Regions from separate parts of the Homo sapiens genome. Here region 2 is linked to region 1. The links are contacts of gene promoters, found by promoter capture Hi-C in blood cells and fetal thymus (Javierre and others, 2016). All regions are on one chromosome and are shown on one strand. The core of a region is centred on a gene start or on the middle of the fragment in contact, and the rest is flanking DNA. Distances in the headings are between cores, read along the strand shown.

What was found. Contacts are between HindIII fragments. The CHiCAGO score rates a contact against its expected background, and 5 or more counts as called.
Region 2: a contact is called between a fragment that was not itself captured here and the fragment with the promoter of PRAG1 in region 1, in 8 of 17 cell types (naive B cells, M0 macrophages, M1 macrophages and 5 more). The highest score is 6.6, in naive B cells.

Annotation. Positions count from the first base shown.
Region 1 is chr8:8,384,688-8,388,907 of GRCh38, reverse strand. PRAG1 (PEAK1 related, kinase-activating pseudokinase 1) reads left to right here and starts at 2,469. Exons shown (of 6, transcript NM_001080826.3): 1 at 2,469-2,587. RefSeq lists a silencer at 2,087-2,766. The HindIII fragment of the contact is 9,968 bases long and covers 1-4,220 here.
Region 2 is chr8:8,972,300-8,977,948 of GRCh38, reverse strand. All of the region lies in intron 2 of LOC124901866, which reads right to left. Among named protein-coding and RNA genes, the nearest start is that of ERI1, 28 kb to the left of the region's middle. RefSeq lists an enhancer at 1-50. The HindIII fragment of the contact is 228 bases long and covers 1,146-1,373 here.

The sequences.
Region 1 (4,220 bases), core at 1,220-3,719:
CTGGCCCAACATGGTGAAATGCTGTCTCTACTAAAAATAGAAAAATTAGCAGGGCATGGTGGTGGCCGCCTGCAATCCCAGCTACTCAGGAGGCTGAGGCAGGAGAATGGCTTGAACCCGGGGAGTGGAGGCTGCAGTGAGACAAGATCTTGCCACTTCACTCCAGCCTGATTGAAAGATGAAACTCCATCCCAGGAAAAAAAAAAAAAAGAATAAGTTAGGTAAAGAGAAGAAAATAAAGTGCAAAAGTAAGTGCTTCTTTTATGTGTTCAGCACAGCCTTTATTCTGTGAGGTCAATGTCTCTCTTACAGAGGAAAGAAGTGAAACATTTAGCCTGAATCCTGAGAACCAGGAACTTCTCAAACATCTTAGTTTGCCCTCTCCCAGTGTAAATGAATTGCACACTTTCTGAAGTCACTTTTGTATTTCTCCATTGCAGACCACTTTGTACCTACCTGTTTAATCAACATCTTCCCCTCTTGAGTCTTGGTAGGGTCTGGATCTTTCAGCTCTGTTGGATGCTCATGAAGTGTAACCAAAGTTTCCCTTCCTTTTTTTTTTTTTTTTTTTTTTGAGACAGGGTCTTGCTCTGATACCCAAGCTGGAGTGTAGTGGTGCGATCTCAGCTCACTGCAACCTCCACCTCCCTGGCTCATGTGAGTCTCCTGCCTCAGCCTCCTGAGTAGCCGGGATTACAGGCGCCCACCACCACACTCGACTAATTTTTGTATTTTTAGTAGAGATGAGGTTATACCACATTGCCCAGGCTGTTCTTGAACTCCTGGCCTCAGGTGATCTGCCAGCCTCGGCCTCCCAAAATGCTGGGATTACAGGTGTGAGCCACCGCGCACGGCCAGTATTTGTTCAAATGATTTCTCTCCACTTAGGGGAGAGAGAAAAATAGGGCTGGACTACCTGCACTTGGCAAGGGCAGAGTGGCAGAGTAGACTTGCCTACCAGCGAAGCCAGACAGCCTTTGGTTCCAATCTTAGTACTACCACTTTTCAGCTGAGGAACCCCAGCAAATTGTGAGGCCCCCGAGCCTCAGTTTTCTTATCTGTAGAATGGGGATAATGATGCTCTCCTCATAGGATTGCTTAGCGCTGGGTAGGTCCTTAAGGAATGTCCATTGCACTCCCATCCCTCTACAGCTTCCCCCAGATTCTGTCCTCTTAGGAGGCATGGGTGTCACTGGAACATGAGGAAGAATTCCCTGGATCCTTTTTTCCCTTTCCTCACACAGAAGCCAAACCTCAAATACACATCTTCCCTCTCTGTCCACACCCACAGCAGCAAAGAGGAGAGCCAGGGATCTGGGGGTGGGGGTGGGGGCCCATCTTCCTCCTCTCAGTGGGTGGGGGCTCGCAGGCTGACTGGCAGAGGACCTTCACTGGAGTCAAAATAAACTGCCTTCCTGGGGAGGGGATAGAGGGCGAGAGAAGCCGCAGGTATTGTTTTGTGGGGGAGGGGGGTCCTCTTCCTATTCCATTTCACTGAATTCTTCCCACCCGGCATGGCCCTGGGAGGTGACCATAGCCCTGGCTCCCCGAGTAAACACCCAGGTCAAGCTACAGGACTGACTGGGTCTTAAGCTATTATACTCCCAGTGAAAAGATTTTTTTAGCCCGAGGACTATCTCGAACTCGTTCTATCTCAGTGAATGACTCACTGGAAACGGTGTAAACACAGGTGTATTACTGGCCTGCGGAAGACTTGGATGTCCCAGCATGGTAGAAGGCCAGGTCCCTGCAGTGCAACGCTTGCATTCTACATCCAGAAAACTAAAGTTCAAAGAGGTTAAGCAATTTGCCAGAATCCTGCAGTCCAGGGACTGAGCGGAACCTGGAATCCGCCACCGGGACTTCCAGCCCTGCTCCCTCCGGCGCCACCCTCTTCCCAGAGGTAGGGAGAGCTGAGGCTCGCTGTGCTCACGTGGCTTTCAGAGCCCGCCTCGGACCCTGACCTGTATTCCACTCCCGACCCCACACTTCCTCGTTTCCCCTTCCTTCTCCCTCTCTTCCCAGGGTCCCGCAGGGCCGGCTGGATGAAGTGATGCCGGGCACCTATACACGCATGATGGCAAAAGGAGGATTGCAACGCCAGAGCTCGCCCCTCCAGAGCTGTGCAGGGTCCCCACCGAGGAGGGGGTGCAAACGGGTGCTGGGCTCGGGGGTCAGCCCGCGCCAAGTCTGGGGCTGGGGGCGGAGCCTGCCGGTCCGGGGCGGGAGGGTGGGCAAGAGAGGGAGTCCCGGGGCCTGGAGACTTTGGAGGAGTCGGGGCCCTGGGGGTAGGAGACCGCCGGGTGGGAGCGGCAGGCGCAAGCCGGGCGGCGGGGCGCGCGGGCCAGGCGGGGCCGGGCGGCGGCAGGGACTGCGGAGGTGCGGCGTGAGCTGGGGCGGGCGGCGTCACCGGAGGCGGAGGGGGCGGAGCCGCGCTCACAGCTGCCACCCGGCCGCCGGGCCCAGGCAGAAGCCACCCGCCCGCGGCCGGGCACGCACCGCGCGCAGACCTTCTGCGAACAATGCTCCGGCCGGGCGGCTGGCGGCTCGGAGACCGACGGAGGGGCCGGGGGAGCGCAGCCCAGAGGTGAGCCCGCGACGCGCTCTCCAAATTCGGCCTCTTTTTGTCTGGCGAGCGTGGTCGCAGAGGGGAGCTTTGGAGGGGCGCTGCGATCGCCGAGCGGGCTACCCCCGGGGTGACAGGCGACCGCTCGGGAAGTGGGCAGTGCCGGGGCCGCGTGAGCCCCGGGTGGTGCCCGAGGTGCAGGGAGGCGCCCGGCCGGGAGGACCGAGGAGCTGGAGGGTGTTTTTGATTCATTCGAGAATCGCGCTCTTTAAAACGGGGAAACTTTCCTACGAGTTCCAGGAGGGAGGACCGACTGTTAGGATGGTTTCTCTGGTCTTGCTGCTCTGTCTGCGGCCGGAGGCTGAAGCGCTTTGAGGACTGCTTTCCACCGCTAGAGTATTGTCAAGGGGGAGAGACGGAAGGCCGCCTGGCTGCTGGGACCAGGACCCGGGGGGATGGTTTGGGGGTGCAGGGTATGCAGCAGCGGGGCTCCAGAGGCAACGAGATGATGCCCTTTTCCCCGAGCCCTGGCTGAGCCCTCTGAAACGCATGCTGTGAGCACGTTATTAACCTTTGCTGGTATCCGGGGACACACACACTTAGAACATAGAATCCTCTGCTGGGCATGGAGGCGGCCGGGCATTCGCAGCGGAGAGCGCCAGCTCACGGTGTGTGCGTTTCTCTCAGGTAAGCTCTCCCTGCACATGGTTTTGCAGAGCCGATAGCAAAGCCCAATGGTCTAGGGGCGAGGAGTTTTGGCGATGCATTCAGTGCGGAGTCAGGCTCAGAAGGCTTTCCTGATCACTGGCCTGAACTATTCTTAACAACTCCTCTCCCCTTCCCTTTCTGAGAAGAAAATTTGACAGAAAGCCCTAGGGAATTCCGCAGTTATTTTTCTCTCCTGAGGTCTGGTTGGTTTCGACTGTAGTGGGTGCAAAACCACATTCCTCCCTCTGAGATTTTCTTTCCTCCAGCACTGGAGGAAGAAAAAAGAAAAGGAAAAGTTGGGTGAATATCGTAATTTACCCTCTGCGTGAGTAGGGAGGCAGGGGGCTAGTGGGTGGTAAAGTTGTCACTTTCTCCTTTCTGCCTGGTCAGCCCTGGCCAGTGGAGTGTGCTGAAGTTCAGACACTTTCCACACATATTTCTTTCCTTTTACTGGCGTTGCATTAATTTAACTGTAACATACAGAAAAAAATTTTAGGTGAATGTTTTCTGCAATTCTGTCACTTCAGAATAAGGCATAAGCAACTTCTGATGTAAGTCTGAGGGGGTATTTTGGGCCAAAATATTTAATCTTAAAGATCTGGCCACCTTGATTCTTCAGATTCTTTTTTGAAATGGGGTGGGAGTGTATCTGACAGCTTCAGTCTTGCAAACTGTAGCCACAAATCTAGTGCAGAAGTTTGCAGAGGCAAAGACATTTTTTTCATGACTTGGATCAGAAAGAATGCTGAGCTCTTTTTTCTAATCTGACACTGCAGCCTCCTACTGAAATGGGGAGGATTTGCATAATTCTGGGGGCTGCCTCCCCTCAGAAGTAAGGAATGTGGGCTGCGAAGTGCCTTCCCCATGCTGTGGAGAGCTGGCACTGCTGCACCAGGCAAGGCGAGGCAAGGCTTTGTGGGTGCCACTTGTGTTTCTCACCATCTTT
Region 2 (5,649 bases), core at 10-2,509, 590 kb before region 1:
CCCTCTCAACTTGGTGGTACTTTCAATGCTCTCAAGCTCCTTATTTGATCCTCAAAGCCGCATTATAGCATAGCCAAGGGATGCAAAAAGACAACTAAAAAAAATTCTATCAACTTTGCAGGGCATACAATATTAAGTAATTTCAAGTATAAAGTGTATTTTCAATTAGCATATGAGTTCACTTTTATATAATGTGTAGTAATATTTAAAATATATAGAAACATTTAGTTTTTTTCCCACTTAACAATTGATACATACTATTCATTTAAATCAGGTTGGGCACAGTGGCTTATGCCTGTAATCCCAGCACTTTGGGAGGCTGAGGCAGGTGGATCATTTGAGGTCGGGAGTTCAATACCAGCCTGGCCAACATGGCAAAACCCCATCTCTACTAAAAATACAAAAATTAGCCAAGCATGGTGGCACATGCCTGTAATCCCAGCTACTCAGGAGGCTGAGGCATGATCACTTGAACCCGGGAGGTGGAAGTTGCGGTGAGCCGAGATGGCGCCACTGCACTCCAGCTAACAGTGACAGTCCATCCAGAATAATTAATTAATTAATTAAGTAGCAAAAACATGCTTTATAAACAAATTAATTCAAGAAGAATATATATGATATTTAGCCTTAGGATCAAACATATATTAAAAACTGGTTTAAAATTTAAAATTGCATACTACTGTATAAACAGATTGCCTTTAGCACATTAAATAGGAAATTCACTTACTATAATTTCCATGTTTTGTTTCTAAGTTATCAATTCAGAGGAAATATTTCAAGCTTCTAAATACAGGTATTTCTGTGCAAACAACGTATTTCAGGTGCTAATGTTTACTTTTGATAAATAAGAAGTCAAATTAAATTTAATAGGCACCATATTTTCTCTCTTAATATATTTTGAAGTACAAGAAGTATTTTGTTGTGCTAAATAACACTTTTGTTGAGATGAATACAACATACAAACTGCAAATATCTCCTTGAAATAAATTTGCATAATTATTATCATTTTAATAATCCTCAGCAAGTTGTTGGATTTTGACATCTGTATGCTTCTTACCTTTAACGAATGATGTTGATATGAATTTTAAAACAAGAAAGTGAGAATAAAATAACTTTATATGTATGGTTGGAGTATTTTTTAAGCTTCTATAACAAAAATACCATAAAATGCATGGCTTAAAGATCATAAGGTTTATTTCTCTCTTATTTAACGTCTGTAGGTGAGTGGTTTCATTGAGGGTGAGATCTGTTCCGCATGTATTCTGAGAGCCAGTTGTTCTGCCATCCCATGAGACAGAATGACTAGAAAAAAGAAACCATGTTGCTTCTTAAGTTTTTTGTGACAAGGTCCCCTTTGACAGTCTGGTGAAGCTTATGGACTATCTCAGAATAATTTTTTTCTTTTTATCATTATTATTATTATTTAATACAGATAAGGTCTTGCTATGTTGACCAGGCTGGTCTCAAACTCCTGGCCTCAAGTCATCCTCCCATGTCGGCCTCCCATAGTGCTTGGATTACAGGTGAGAGCCACCATGCCTAGCCTCAGAATAATTTTTTCAAAGATATAAAAGAAAATGTATAGGATTATAAAAGATAGCAATTATATTGAAATATATTCATCACAATGCTTATAAAGCAAATGTGTGAATTACTAATATATTTGCTTCTTTATTAATACATTAAATAGAAAGATCTAGTAGGGTCAAATTGTCTCGTATCACAATTTCAAACTGGTGAAGAGCACAAATAATATTTTGAGATATCTTCAGCTGAAATGTGAAATAAAAATACCTTTCTATTGGTCACAAAGTTACCTGTACTCTTAATACTGTGGTTACTTTCCTGTATTCATAATTGAAAAACACAATTTCAGTTAGAGTTAAATTGAAATGAAGACTTTTTTTCCCTGATTTAACTTCATTAACCCACATGGTTTATATCCCCAAATTCCTTGAGTATTCATAAAACCCTGATTAACAGCTCCTGGGCTGGGCACGGTGGCTCATGCCTGTAATCCCAGCACTTTGGAAGGCTGAGGCAGGCAGATCACTTGAGGTCGGGAGTTTGAGGCCATCCTGGCCAATGTGGCAAAACCCTGTCTCTACTAAAAATACAAAAATTAGCTGGCCGTGGTGGTGCGAGCCTATAATCCCACCTACTTGGGAAGCTGAGGCAGGAGAATCTCTTGAACCCAGGAGGTGGAGGTTGCGGTGAGCTGAGATCAAATCACTGCACTCCAGCCTGGGTGAAAGAGCGAGACTCCATCTAAAAAAAAAAAAAAATAACAAAAAAACAAAACAAAAAAACTGACCTAGGGCTATGAATTAATCTACATAATCAAAGTCAAGCAGCAAACATAGCTATTTTCTGATTCAAGAAAGGGAAAAAATGAAAATCTGTAACAATTTGGGGGGAAGTAAAGGCCAAGTTTTGGGGAGTGTTTTAAGGAAGTAAGACCAAAAAAGAATTTTTTTTTTTTTTGAGATGGAGTCTCACTTTGTTGCCCAGGCTGGAGTGCAGTAGAGTGATCTCGGCTCACTGCCACCTCCACCTCCCGGGTTCAAGTGAATCTCCTGCCTCAGCCTCCCCAGTAGCTGGGATTACAGGCGTGTGCCACCACGCCTGGCTAATTTTTGTATTTGTAGTAGAGATGGGGTTTCACCATGTTGGACAGACTGATCTTGAAGTCTTGAGCTCAAGTGATCCACCTGCCAGCTTCAGCCTCCCAAAGTGTTGGGATCATAGGCGTGAGCCACTGAGCCCGGCTGAAATCAAAATTTCGTGCATTATTTCCTCTCACAATTCACTGATGAAAACTTAGCTGGATGGCCACACCTAGCTGTAAAAAAGGCTGGGGTAGGCAGGGTGTGATGGCTCATACCTATATTCACAGCACTTTGGATGCCTGAGGTGGGACGATCACTTGAGAACAGGAGTTCAAGACCAGCTCGGGCAAAAACCACATATCTGCAAAAAAATCTAACAACCAGCCAGGCGTGGTGGTGTGTGCCTGTAGTCCCAGCTGCTTGGGAGGCTGATGTGGAGGGATCGTTTAAGCCAGTAGGTTGAGGCTTCAGTGAGCCATGATTGCACCACTGCACTCTAGCTTGGGTGAAAAAGCAAGACCCTGTCAGAAGAAGGAGAAGGAGAAGGAGGGGGAGAAGGAGAACAAGGGGGAAGAGAAGGGGTTGGGGAGGGTGAAGGGGGAGGGGAGGTGAAGGGGAAAGGGAGGAGGGAGGAGGGAGGAAAAGAAGGAGGAGGAGGAGAAGAAGAAGACTGGGAAATACAATTTTTAGCTGGCTCACCATTTTCTAATGAAGAAGGGGAAAATGGATGTGGGGTGACAACAAGCAGCCTGCCATGCTCCATGGTAGTCAGAGACAACATGGTGGGCTGTTGTGCTCAGCTGGTGCTAACTCAATAGAGTGACCGTGTCATCAGCCTTTTTATCTGATCCCCCAATTGCTCCATATGGTTAGTTGGTACATACTCAAAGGCTCTCAGGTGAGAGACATTTGTCAAGATCACCTCTAAAACTAGAGAGTGAAAGAGTTGCCATGATACCCTCTTAAAATCCCAGGTATCCACATACTTCTGAGAAATGTTGCCCTCAACCAAACAGAAAGGCACGAGACCCTGGAGACAATATGTCCTAGCACTGACCCCTAGGGGACACACCACGTTCTTCTCTCCACCTGTTCTGCAGCCCAGCTCTCCCCTCACTGCACCGTTTAGGGGCAGGAACGCGGATCTGTAGGGGTCAGAGGCCAGGGCATTTGTTTCCACTGTCACGGGGGTGAGGTCTCTGTGTTTGTGATTCAGACATTTGGGGGATTTGCTTTCTCTTCCATAACGCTGGCCCAAAACTGCATCTGTTTGGGGGTTGCTGCATCCCAGGAAGCAGGGTGGTGGAGAAACCACGGATAGGTGGGTGGTGGCGAAACCACGGATAGGTGGTTGGTGGCAGATGGGGGAGTACTGGCAAGTTCCCAAGTGCAGAGGTAGCGATGCCTGCATCAGCAACCACTATCTCGTGCCAGCATCAGCCATGGTGAGCATTGTGGTCTTGTGTCCAATGCCCACTGCACTGGTGTCCTCACTGACTGACTTCTGCTCCTGCCTGCCACCAAAGCTTTGACTTTAAGCCTGCTTCTCCCATCTGCTCAGCACGAGCCGGAGCTCCTGAATAGCCTTCTGCTAAATTTCTTCCTTCCAAAGTTATTGGAGTTGGATTCTGTTGCTCACAAATAAGATTCCTGACAGATAACAGTTTGAGGGGATTAGAGACACTCCAATCTAGCTCTCAGGAGGAAGCGTATTCCTTCTTTTTCCTTGGATTTGTCTTATTACATTGAGCTGTTCACGAGGCTGTGGCTTGCGCTGGGCTTAGAGGAAAGGGAGTCTAAGACGCCGTTCATCCCACTTTTACTGGTGCAGCTCCTTGAGCCTATCTCTATCCAGGCGAAATGAATCCTTCACATCATTTACCCCAGCTCACAACTCTCTGGAGGCTTAGAGCGAAAGCCTAATCATAGCAATGACAGCCAGCTTTGTCTGCTCTCATTCTCCCTCGCACCACCCCCCTCCCCACGTTTGGAAAGGATTTAAGTGATTAGGAGCCTGGCTCTCCCAGACGCTTCTTTCCATCTGAGCTCCACAGATCACTTTATCACCTTTCACCAAACTGGTAGACTGTGCGTTATACAAGAAGACAATCTGAGTCCATTTTGTGGAGCGCTTGGGGCCAGAAAGTGCTGGCTACACAAGTCTGGAATTAGTATTTATAGAGCATAAATCAACAGAAATTATAGACATGGAATATTCTGAGAGAAAATAAATAAAAGCTAGTATGGGCTTTTGTGGAGGAGGATTAACAAGACGCGGTTCAAGGCTGGGAATGCCAGAAAAAGACTGGGGACAGATCCAGTTATGAACATGGAAATCCATGAAACTGCCTCCCCCAATCTATGTTCAAAGGAAAAGCTCTCAGCAAATATAAAATGATTTTTAAAAAATTTTTTGCTTTGAATTTCAGAATTTGCACTTATTTATGGAGGCAAATATGTTGTATATAAACTTCTAATCCAATGTTTTTATTCTCTAAAATGACAATGAGGATGATGACGAAACACCAGTCATTTACTGGGCACTTTGTTTGTTTGTTTTTGAGAAGGAGTATTGCTCTGTCGCCCAGGCCGGAGTGCAGTGGCATAATCTTGGCTCACTGCAACCTCTACCTCCCGAGTTCAAGCAATTCTCCTGCCTCAGTCTCCCAAGTAGCTGGGACTACAGGTGTGCACAGCCACGCATGGCTAATTTTTGTATTTTTAGTAGAGATGGGATTTCACCATGTTGGCAAGGACGATCTTGATCTCCTGACCTTGTGATCCACCCGCCTTGGCCTCCCAAAGTACTGAGATTACAGGCATGAGCCATAGTGCCCAGCCTAATTTTTGTATTTTTAGTAGAGGCGGGGTTTTGCCATGTTGGTCAGGCCGGTCTTGAACTCTTGACCTTGGTGATCCGCCCACCTCGGCCTCCCAAAATGCTGGGATTACAGGCATGAACCACCGTGCCCAGCCAACTGTTTTTTTTTTTTTTTTGGGGGGGATGCAGTCTCTCTCTGTCTCCCAGGCTGGAATGCAG